Regions from separate parts of the Homo sapiens genome. Here region 2 is linked to region 1. Evidence: promoter capture Hi-C in human tissues and cell types (Jung and others, 2019). All regions are on one chromosome and are shown on one strand. The core of a region is centred on a gene start or on the middle of the fragment in contact, and the rest is flanking DNA. Distances in the headings are between cores, read along the strand shown. Region 1 holds the start of GPR52 (G protein-coupled receptor 52). Region 2 overlaps RABGAP1L (RAB GTPase activating protein 1 like).

Region 1 (5,504 bases), core at 1,253-3,752:
TCATATTTGACCTTCAGTATTGCTCTGAATAGATTTTGGTACAGTAGTGTTAGTTCTATTGCTTTGTTTGTACAGTTAAATACATCAAACTCAGCAATTTTTTGTGGGGGTGATGGGGATTGGAGAGATTAGTAAATGATTTCTAAGTTCTGTTAATTAAAATGTAACTATATATTTTAGAGAGAAGTTAGTAGTCATATCACTTTAGTTCATGAAGACTTGGCAAATTTTTAATAATTAATAAGTTTTTTCTGCCAATGAGCATTAGATTACTGCTGACTTTTTAGTGTCATAGTACCTTGTGGTAGTTTCTTTACAGGGTTTACAGGAGTATGGCAGTTTATTTTTTCTGTCTTGTCCATACGAAATAATCTTTACAAATGCTATAAGGAGAATACCTTGAGAAGTTCATAAATGCCTTAATATATTATAAAGATCGGTCAGTTCCATTGTCTTCTTTTGTCAGTCTTGATCGGAGCTTGCCGAGTAAGTCTATAAGCCTGCATGTGCCTGGCAACTGTTACCTAGTGACAGTTTCAGCTGCAGTAGCCATTGGCTGTGCTGTTGATTGGGGCAGGAGGGCCGAGTCACCTTTCTGATGGTGAGTTTTTCTGCATCAGCCCAGGATGAGGAGGAGGAGTAGGGCTTGGGCTCAGGTGGAGTCATTGATGCTGAGAGATTGTGAAGAATATACTGACAGCATCCTTGTAGCTGCATCACAGTAAATCGGACTTCTGAATCAAGCAGCCCAGCCTAGCAGCTGATAAGAGTGAATGTAGGTGAGAAGCATTACCTTATTCCTGTAACAAGAGAACTGTTTTGTGATAAGTGAAACTAGGAATGTAGAAGAAGAAATATCCTATGGCTATTATAAAAGAAGAAGGACTTGCCTGAATGACTTGGTGGTGCACCAGAAAATAACTTTCAGAAGAATGCTTTCTGTTAAGCTGCTGCATTGTTCCTGGAGGAAATGTTATTTCTAATGCATGTTATTTCTTCAAAAGATAGGATAACAAAGAATGACAGGAGACTCTCTGAAATGACTTCACTTTTAAAAAATACTTTGGCAAATGTTAACCTGATATCAAAATGACCTTGGAAGCATTTTGGATGGATTCTATCCTGGCAGCCTTGCAATGTTTCAAACTCTAGGATTTAAAGTTCATCTTGATACTTTAGAGGTATTTTAAAATAAGACTATCTTGCAACCTACCTAATGGCCCCTGTGTTAATTGAGCACTTGCTCAAAATAGAGTACAGAAAAATAGAAGAGGCATTTTTTAACATATGGCTGCTACATAACTGCAAATGTAATAAACAAGGTAATTTTCCACTTTCAGAAGATATAGTTGAAGTAATGATTTAATGTGTTAAATCATCTACTGAAAATAGAAAAGGTATAGCAACATAGAACATGAAGCCTATTAGAAATACCTAAGTAATAAATAATGGCAGCATTTCTGGTCAAATAAGCTCGGAGTATATTGGAAAGTTTTATTGTCTAACTTTATATTTACATATATATGTGAGATATGGGTATACAGTTGCAAAGGTGAGAAATAACTGTGAGCTACATATTTTATTATCATGCTCCATTATAAGGAAGGTGGTATATGAAATAACAAATGTTATTTTAAGTTATAGATGCCAAATTAATAGCAAAAATAATTCATTTTGAAAAGGAAGAGGTATAAGTTACGTTGCTGTTAGTACCACCAGTAACTGTAATGGATTAAAACTGCTTTCATCTAAATGCTTTAAAAATGCATGCAGAATTAAAACTTCAGAAGTTTATTACATTTTGCCAGGTGTTAATTCATTAATTCATTGTATATTCTCTTTTCTATTGGAAAATACTTTTTTCTCATGAGAGTTATAGGGCAATCTGGAGTCTGTTTGTTACCTCTATTCTGCCCATGTAGAGATGAATCTTTTCAAATTAACTTTGATAGAGTTGTTTTTCTTAGATTTTAGAAAAATGAGAAATAGGTTATAAATTTGACCCCCCAACATCAATCCCTGAACTAAGCCCAAAGACACTCTTTGCCACAATGAACTTTTTCTTAGCTTTTCAACCAAATTTGAGATCTTAAATTATTTAAAATCTAAAATATGAATGCATTTTTCATCATAGATAAAGCAGGAAGCCTGAGACAGTTTCAGAGTTTTTCTTTTCTCATTCTTTCCAGTTGCTCCCTAAGAAACTGCCTCTCTTAGGAGAACAGCCCACAGAAGCTTTTCTTCCTTTGGCAATTCATTTTTTTTCTTTTTACAGATTTAATTTTTCATAGTGCAAGATAATAAGAAGTCTATTTTCTCTAGAAGTGCCTTATGTCTGCAAAAAGTTCTTTGAGGGCACCAGAGGAAACTAATTAGTGACCTCTTTTCACCTCCTTTCTAGCTTATCCCCTTCTCTCCACCCCTTACCGCCCCCCCCCCACCCCCCCGCCCGAAAGCTGAGGTGTGTCACTGCTGAACTGAGGCTGGTGAAGAGACTTGAGCACTCTCTGGGACTCTCAGCTGTGACAGAAGCACTGACACTGTCTACTGAAGCAGGTTCTGAAACACTCATGTGCGGTGTTTAACAGATGCTGGGCAGGGCATCTGCTTGCTGTAGCCAAGTCTGCAGGTGTCTTTAAATTTCCAAGCCATGAATGAATCCAGGTGGACTGAATGGAGGATCCTGAACATGAGCAGTGGCATTGTGAATGTGTCCGAGCGTCACTCCTGCCCACTTGGATTTGGCCACTACAGTGTGGTGGATGTCTGCATCTTCGAGACAGTGGTTATTGTGTTGCTGACATTTCTGATCATTGCTGGGAATCTAACAGTTATCTTTGTCTTTCATTGTGCTCCACTGTTACATCATTATACTACCAGCTATTTCATTCAGACGATGGCATATGCTGATCTTTTCGTTGGAGTTAGCTGCTTGGTTCCTACTCTGTCACTTCTCCACTACTCCACAGGTGTCCACGAGTCATTGACTTGCCAGGTTTTTGGATATATCATCTCAGTTCTAAAAAGTGTTTCTATGGCATGTCTTGCTTGCATCAGTGTGGATCGTTATCTTGCAATAACCAAGCCTCTTTCCTACAATCAACTGGTCACCCCTTGTCGCTTGAGAATTTGCATTATTTTGATCTGGATCTACTCCTGCCTAATTTTCTTGCCTTCCTTTTTTGGCTGGGGGAAACCTGGTTACCATGGTGACATTTTTGAATGGTGTGCCACGTCTTGGCTCACCAGTGCCTATTTTACTGGCTTTATTGTTTGTTTACTTTATGCTCCTGCTGCCTTTGTTGTCTGCTTCACTTACTTCCACATTTTCAAAATTTGCCGTCAGCACACCAAAGAGATAAATGACCGAAGAGCCCGATTCCCTAGTCATGAGGTAGATTCTTCCAGAGAGACTGGACACAGCCCTGACCGTCGCTACGCCATGGTTTTGTTTAGGATAACCAGTGTATTTTATATGCTGTGGCTCCCCTATATAATTTACTTTCTTCTAGAAAGCTCCCGGGTCTTGGACAATCCAACTCTGTCCTTCTTAACAACCTGGCTTGCAATAAGTAATAGTTTTTGTAACTGTGTAATATACAGCCTCTCCAACAGCGTTTTCCGGCTAGGCCTCCGAAGACTGTCTGAGACAATGTGCACATCCTGTATGTGTGTGAAGGATCAGGAAGCACAAGAACCCAAACCTAGGAAACGGGCTAATTCTTGCTCCATTTGAAGAGAGCTACATAGTAAATCAAATGTAATCTGACAGTGGTTTTGGATCATATTCTAGATTCATCTGGAAATTTGCCATCAGAGAAATATTTACTTGAATAGTTGACTGTAAAATGAAGTATGAGACTAAAGGTTTCTCTCTTTTTTTTTCTTTTTCATGGAAGAAACTAAAGGGAAGGATGTATAGAGGGTTAGCTCATGAAATAATTATAGCATGTGAGTATTAGTGTGCAGTAATAGGAAAAATTAAGCACTGAGATGAAAAAGAATATCTCAAATCTTCTGCAGGACATGAGCAAGCCCCTTGGCTCAGCATTTCTGTCTTTCTGTCTGACTGTACCCTGCCTCTGTCTTTCTCATTTTGTCTATGTTTCTCTCACTCTTTGTGGAAGTTATTACTTACATAAACTGCCCTTTGTAGAAAAGTGCTACATATTATATATGTGGTAAAGTATAATCTTTTGCATCAAAGTGTACCTTTAATCACACTAATCTATAATCCATAAGTGATCTCTTCATGGAGGATGCACAGTAAGCATTGCATTTTATTATTTGCCAAACAACCCCTTTGCTTGTGTTTTTATAATGTTCTCTGCAGCACAGTTTTTCTGCTATAAACAAATAGAAACAGTATTTTTGTTTCTTCTGGGTAAAATGACATTTGCTTTTCCCTGGTTTCCTAACAGTCTCCTGTTTTTTTTCTCTCTTTTTCTTGATCTGCATCCATTGGTACCTTACTTTAGAAGTGTCTTAGCTATTGAAAGAATCTACTGTATAGAGCATCCATGATGTTAAATAATGTATTTCTTCCAGCAAAGCAATCTGGTAGCTTATTAAATATTTTTAATGGCTTTTGGAAACATTTTTATCTGGTTCCTTTTAAATTAGTTCATGTGCTTAAAAGTGATGTCTTTTTTTTGCTATAGTAAAGCTTTGTTTTTCTTTAAGAAAACCCACTAGTAATTGTAATGCAGATGCAGGATACTCACCCAGCAGTGAGGTATTACTCTTAAGGGTACTTAGAATGCCCTTTTTAAAAATAAATAAATAAAATAAAACATGAATCTTTTTTGTGTTAGGTCTACGATAGCTTACTGTTGTGTCCACTAGTCAGTCATTTGTGTGATATGCGTTTGCACATACTATGTTTTTCACAGCAAAGAAAATGTAAATTATGTTATCTGTGCCTAACGTTTTCTTAGCAAAATATATAGATCAATGTTGTTTAAGTTGTCAACATTGGAAAAAGTATATACAAAAACCTATTTTAAGAGAAAAATACTTTTGTGTAATTGTTATTTAGATATTTATATTAGACAAAGCTGCATTTTTAGTGCCGCTGAGAATATAATATACTTAATTATCAAATACAGGTAAGAGCTGACAGTATTTTCTTTTGTAATGATCTGTTTTCAAATGCAGAGATTAACTTATTTTTTTGCCTGCTACATGGGGTTGTGTGATAAATTGTCAGGGGTTTAGATGTAGCAAAGTAGCATTTGGGGAATTAGCGAAGCAAGTATGAGCAGTAAAACATCTAAGTATTACTTTTTTACCATAAGTTTCTTGCCTGAAAGATATTTTAAAATTTATATCAAACTACTGAGTATTTTTCTTCTCAGCATTTTTGATTTCTTTGTTTTATGAAATGCATTTAATAAAATGTGCCTATGACTCTTCAAATTAGAAGCCAACCATGTTTGCACCCTGGTGGTTTGGCTTCAAAGGTCTTTTAGTAGAAATGTTGTCATTTTATTGAGGTTGTTCTG
Region 2 (5,642 bases), core at 2,643-5,142, 260 kb after region 1:
TGCTTGTTTTGGAACTTTATGTATGTGGAATCATACAATACGAACTCTTTTCTGTCTAACTTTTTTTAGTCATCATTATGTTTGTGAGATTCATCCGTATCATTGCATTTAGGCATAGTTTAGTTTTCCATTCTCCCATTCTATTGTTGACGGTTATTTGAGTTGTTTCTAGTTTCCAGAAGGCCATTATGAATAGTGCTCCGTGTGAATCTTTTGAACTTTCTTGAACTTGTCTTTTAGTTAACGTACCTATGCACTTCTGTGAGTACACATCAAGGAGTAGAATTGTTGTGTTAGGATGCACATACATTCAGCTTTAATGGATACTGCCAAACAGCCTTCCAAGGTAGCATGAGCATTAACTTTGAGTTGTTTTTATTCAATAAAGATCTTTCTTGTGATCAAGGGCAAGGTTTTGTTCTGTTTTGTTTTGTTTTGTTTTGTTTTGTTTTGTTTTTAGGTCGCAGATAATGGGTCAGATAAGAGTCCATGAATACGCAACAAAATGAAACTCATTTGGTGATTGGAATGATTGACCTGATCTCTGAAGTTGCATACAGGCAGATTGAAAGCTAAGAACTGGACCTAAAAGCAGAGTCCCTTTAGTGCTTTTATGAGAGAAGTTACTATGATGGGGAAAATCCAGCAAAGTATTTTCAGTCTTACAAAGAGCAATGTAGAGACGGTATGACATTTGAGTTAGGATATTGGACTTTTTAGTCAACCTTTCCTAGACAGCCTTGTTCAAGTTACTTGACCTATGTAAATCTCATTTTCTTTGTTTGTGTAATGAGACTAACAATACCTGTCTCTCAGGTTTAGTGTAAGAATTAGATGAGATTATGATATCAAGTACTTAAGTACTCTGCCTACTATACAGTATTCAATTAATAATAACATTGCCCTGCAGTCTGCTCCATCCATCTGTATAGCCCATTTAGTTGCTTCTTAATTTCTTCAATTATCTAGGTTTCTAATCACCTTCCCCTCCATCACCCAGTGGTTGAGATGCTTCTTTGGTAAAAGCAAAATTTTAAGTGAGTGACCTTAATGGAAGCTTAATTCTATTTCCTTTTTCAGTAGTGATTCAAATACTGCTCTAAAAGTGTTTTTTGCTTCTCCTCCACATTCTTTCAGAAGACATAAGGAAAATACTGGTATTTCTTTTAGTCTTCACAGAATAACTGACAGCCGGTGTTTGAAGTTGACTCTTCCCAGATAGTTCAATTTTTAGAGTACCAAATATGTTCAGCTTTATATAGTAACTTGGTATTTTCATGAAATTTAAGGAAATCGTTGACCCTTCAAATTAGAATGTATCTTCTGCTTCTCTTCTCTTCTCAGGATGTTGAAAAAATGACAGTACTACATTATTTGATTAAATATCACCAGGTATAATTCTCTCAAAGCAGTTTTCAGAAGTTGTTATCTGAAGAGTAGATTCATTATTTATTACACAATATTCTCCCTCCTTATCCCCATTCTCCCCCACAAAAAACTCATCAGAATGAGCTTAATACAAGCAAGATTAAGACTCTGACATAGGGGAGCTGGCAAGATGGCCAAATAGGAAGAGCTCTGGTCTGCAGCTCCCAATGAGACCAATGCAGAGGGTGGGTGATTTCTGCATTTTCAACTGAGGTACCCGGTTCATCTCACTGGGACTGGTTAGACAGTGGGTGCAGCCCATGAAGGATTAACAGAAGCAGGGTGGGGCATCACCTCACCTGGGAAGCACAAGGGGTCAAGGAACTCCCTCCCCTAGCTGAGGGAAGCTGTAAAGTACTCTGCCATGAGGGACAGTGCTATCCAGCCCAGATACTACACTTTTCCCATGGTCTTCGCAACCTACAGACCAGGAGATTCCCTCGGGTGCCTGCACCACCAGGGCCCTGAGTTTCAAGCATAAAACTGGGCAGTCGTTTGGGCAGACACCAAGCTAGCTGCAGGAGTTTTTGTTTGTTTGTTTTGTTTTGTTTTGTTTTGTTTTTACCCCAGTGGTGCCTGGAATGCCAGTGAGACAGAACTGTTCACTCCCCTGGAAAGGGGGCTGAAGCCAGGGAGTTGAGTGGTCTGTCTCAGCAGAACCTACCCCCATGGCATCCAACAAGCTAAGATTCACTGGCTTGAAATTCTCACTGCCAGCACAGCATTCTGAAGTCAAGCTGGGATGCTTGAGCTTGGTGTGGGGAGAGGTGCTGCCATTACTGAGGCTTGAGTACGCAGTTTTCCCCTCACAGTGTAAACAAAGCCTCCAGGAAATTCGAACTAGTTGTGGAACCCACCGCAGTGCAGCAAAGCTGCTGTAGCCATAGCACCTCTCTAGATTCATGCTCTCTGGGCAGGGCATCTCTGAAAGAAAGGCAGCAGCCCCAGTCAGAGGCTTATAGATAAAACTCCCATCTCCCTGGGACAGAGCACCTGGGGGAAGGGGTGGCTGTGGGCGCAGCTTCAGCAGACTTAAACATTCCAGCCTGCCAGCTCTGAAGAGAACAGTGGATCTCCCAGTACAGTGCTCGAGCTCTGCTAAGGGACAGACAGCCTCCTCAAGTGGATCCCTGATACCTATGCCACCTGACTGGGAGACACCTCTGAAGAGGGGTTGACAGATAACTCATACAGAAGAGCTCTGGCTGGCATCTGGCAGGTGCCCCTCTCTGATGAAGCTTCCAGAGGAAGGAACAGACAGCGATCTTTGCTGTTTTGAAGCCTCTGCTGGTGATATACCCAGGCAAACAGGTTCTGCAGTGGACCTCCAGCAAACTCCAGCAGACCTGCAAAAAGGGCCCTGACTATTAGAAGGAAAACTAGCAAACAGAAAGCAATAGTATCAACATCAACAAAAAGGACACCCATGCAAAAATCCCATCTGAAGGTCACCAACATCAAAGACCAAAGATAGATAAATCCATGAAGATGAGGAAAAGCCAGCGCAAAAAGGCTGAAAATTCCAAAAACCAGAATGCCTCTTCTCCAAAGGATCACAGCTCCTTGCCAGCAAGAGAATAGAACTGGATGGAGAATGAGTTTGTCGAATTGACATAAGTAGGCTTCAGAAGATTGGTAATAACAAACTCCTCTGAGCTAAAGACACAGTGCAAGGGAGCCAAAAACCTTGATAAAAGGTTACAGAAACTGCTAACTAGAATAACTAGTTTAGAGAAGAACATAAATGACCTGATGGAGCTGAAAAACACAGCACGAGAACTTCGTGAAGCATACACAAGTATCAATAGCCAAATTGATCAAGTGGAAGAAAGGATATCAGCGATTGAAGATCAACTTAATGAAATAAAACAGGAAGACAAGATTAGAGAACAAAGAATGAAAAGGAAGAAACAAAGCCTCCAAGAAATATGGGACTGGGAAAAGACCAAACCTACGTTTGACTGGTGTACCTGAAAGTGATGGGGAGAATGGAACCAAGTTGGAAAACACACTTCAGGATATTATCCAGGAGAACTTCTCCAACCTAGCAAGACAGGCCAATATTCAAATTCAGGAAATACAGAGAACACCACAGAGATACTATTCCTTTGTGGAACCCCACAAAGAACAACCACAAGACAGATAATCATCAGATTCACCAATGTTGAAATGAAGGAAAAAATGTTAAGGGAAGCCAGAGAGAAAGGTCGGGTTACTCACAAAGGGAAGCCCATCAGACTAACAGTGGATCTCTCTGCAGAAACCCTGCAAGCTAGAAGAGAGTGGGGGCCAATTTTTAACATTCTTAAAGAAAATAATTTTCAACCAGAATTTCATATCCAGCCAAACTAAGCTTCATAAGTGAAGGAGAAATAAAATCCTTTACAGACAAGCAAATGCTGAGGGATTTTGTCACCACCAGGCCTGCCTTACAAGAGCTCTTGAAGGAAGCACTAAATATGGAAAGACCAGTACCAGCCACTGCAAAAACAAAACAAATTGTAAAGACCATCAACACTATGAAGATACTGCATCAACTAATGGACAAAATAACCAGCTAGCATCATATGACAGTATCAAATTCACACATAACAAAATTAACCTTAAATGTAAATAGGCTAAATACCCCAATTAAAAGACAGACTGGCAAATTGGATAAAGAGTCAAGACCCATTGGTGTGCTGTGGAGCAGGGGGCGGTGCTCATCGGGGAGGCTCAGGCTGCGCAGGAGCCCACGGTGGCGGGGAGGCTCAGGCATGGCGGGCTGCAGGTCCCAAGCCCTGCCCCACAGGGAGGCAGCTAAAGCCCGGCGAGAAGTCGAGCACAGCAGCTGCTGGCCCAAACACAGCTTAGCAGTGCTAAGCCCCTCACTGTCTGGGGCCGGCAGGGCCAGCTGGCCGCTGTGAGTGCGGGGCCTGCCGAGCCCACGCCCACCCGGAACTCACGCTGGCCCGCAAGTGCCATGTACAGCCCCGGTTCCCACCTGCGCCTCTCCCTCCACACCTCCCTGCAAGCTGAGGGAGCCAGCTCCAGCCTTGGCCAGCCCAGGAAGGGGCTCCCACAGTGCAGCGGTGGGCTGAAGGGCTCCTCAAGTGCCGCCAAAGTGGGAGCCCAGGCAGAGGAGGCACTGAGAGTGAGTGAGGGCTGCCGGCACGCTGTCACCTCTCAGAGGGAGAGGCGTGGGTGGGAACCGAGGCTGCGCACAGTGCTTGCGGGCCAGAACGAGTTCCAGGTGGGCGCGGGCTTGGCGGACCCCGCACTCGGAGCGGCTGGCCTGCGCTGCTGGCCCTGGGCAGTGAGGTGCTTCGCACCCGGGCCAGCAGCTGTGGAGGGTGCACCAGTCCCCCAGCACTGCTGGCCCACCCGCACCACGCTCGAATTCTCGCCAGGCCTTAGCTGCCTCCCCATAGGGCAGGGTTCGGGACCTGCAGCCTGCCGTGCCCGAGTGCCCCCTGGCACTCCTGCCCTCCACGGGCTCCCGCACGCCCGAGCCTCCCTGACTGGCACTGCCCCCTACTCCGGGGGCCTGGTCACACCAACCGCCCAAGGGCTGAGGAGTGTGGGCACATGGCATGGGACTGGTGGGTACCTCCACCCATGGCCCTGGCACAGGATCCACTAGGCGAAGCCAGCTGAGCTTCTGAGTCGGGTGGGAACTTGGAGAACTTTTATGTTTAGCTAGAGGATTGTAAATGCACCAGTCAGCACTGTGTCTAGCTCAAGGTTTGTAAACACACCAATCAGTGCTCTGTGTCTAGATAATCTAGTGGGGACTTGGAGAACTTTTGTGTCTAGCTAAAGGATTGTATATGCACCAGTCAGCACTTTGTGTCTAGCTCAAGGTTTGTAAACACGCCAGTCAGCACCCTGTCAAAACGGACCAATCGGCTCTCTGTAAAATGGACCAATCAGCTGTCTGTAAAACGGACCAATCAGCTCTCTGTAAAACAGACCAATCAGCAGGATGTGGGTGGGGCCAGATAAGAGAATAAAAGCAGGCTGCCCGAGCAGTCACCTTCCGGACTGTGGAAGCTTTGTTCTTTTGCTCTTTGCAGTAAATTTTGTTGCTGCTCAGTCTTTGGGTCCGCACTGCCTTTATGAGCTGTAAGACTCACTGCGAAGGTCTGCAGCTTCACTCCTGAAGCTAGTGAGACCACGAACCCACTGGGAGGGACGAACAACTCCAGACGCGCCACCTTTAAGAACTGTAACAC

The links. Contacts are between HindIII fragments. The study calls those that stand out against the background at their distance.
Region 2: a fragment that was not itself captured here is called in contact with the fragment with the promoter of GPR52 in region 1 in 2 of the 25 tissues and cell types used here (H1 embryonic stem cells and adrenal gland).

What each region holds. Positions count from the first base shown.
Region 1 is chr1:174,445,462-174,450,965 of GRCh38, forward strand. It overlaps GPR52 (G protein-coupled receptor 52), which reads left to right and starts at 2,503. Exons shown (of 1, transcript NM_005684.5): 1 at 2,503-4,084. The coding sequence starts at 2,651. The coding sequence ends at 3,736. The region is part of intron 13 of RABGAP1L (RAB GTPase activating protein 1 like); the gene reads left to right. The HindIII fragment of the contact is 5,530 bases long and covers 224-5,504 here.
Region 2 is chr1:174,706,798-174,712,439 of GRCh38, forward strand. All of the region lies in intron 17 of RABGAP1L (RAB GTPase activating protein 1 like), which reads left to right. Among named protein-coding and RNA genes, the nearest start is that of RABGAP1L-AS1, 240 kb to the right of the region's middle. RefSeq lists an enhancer at 5,599-5,642. The HindIII fragment of the contact is 4,063 bases long and covers 1,862-5,642 here.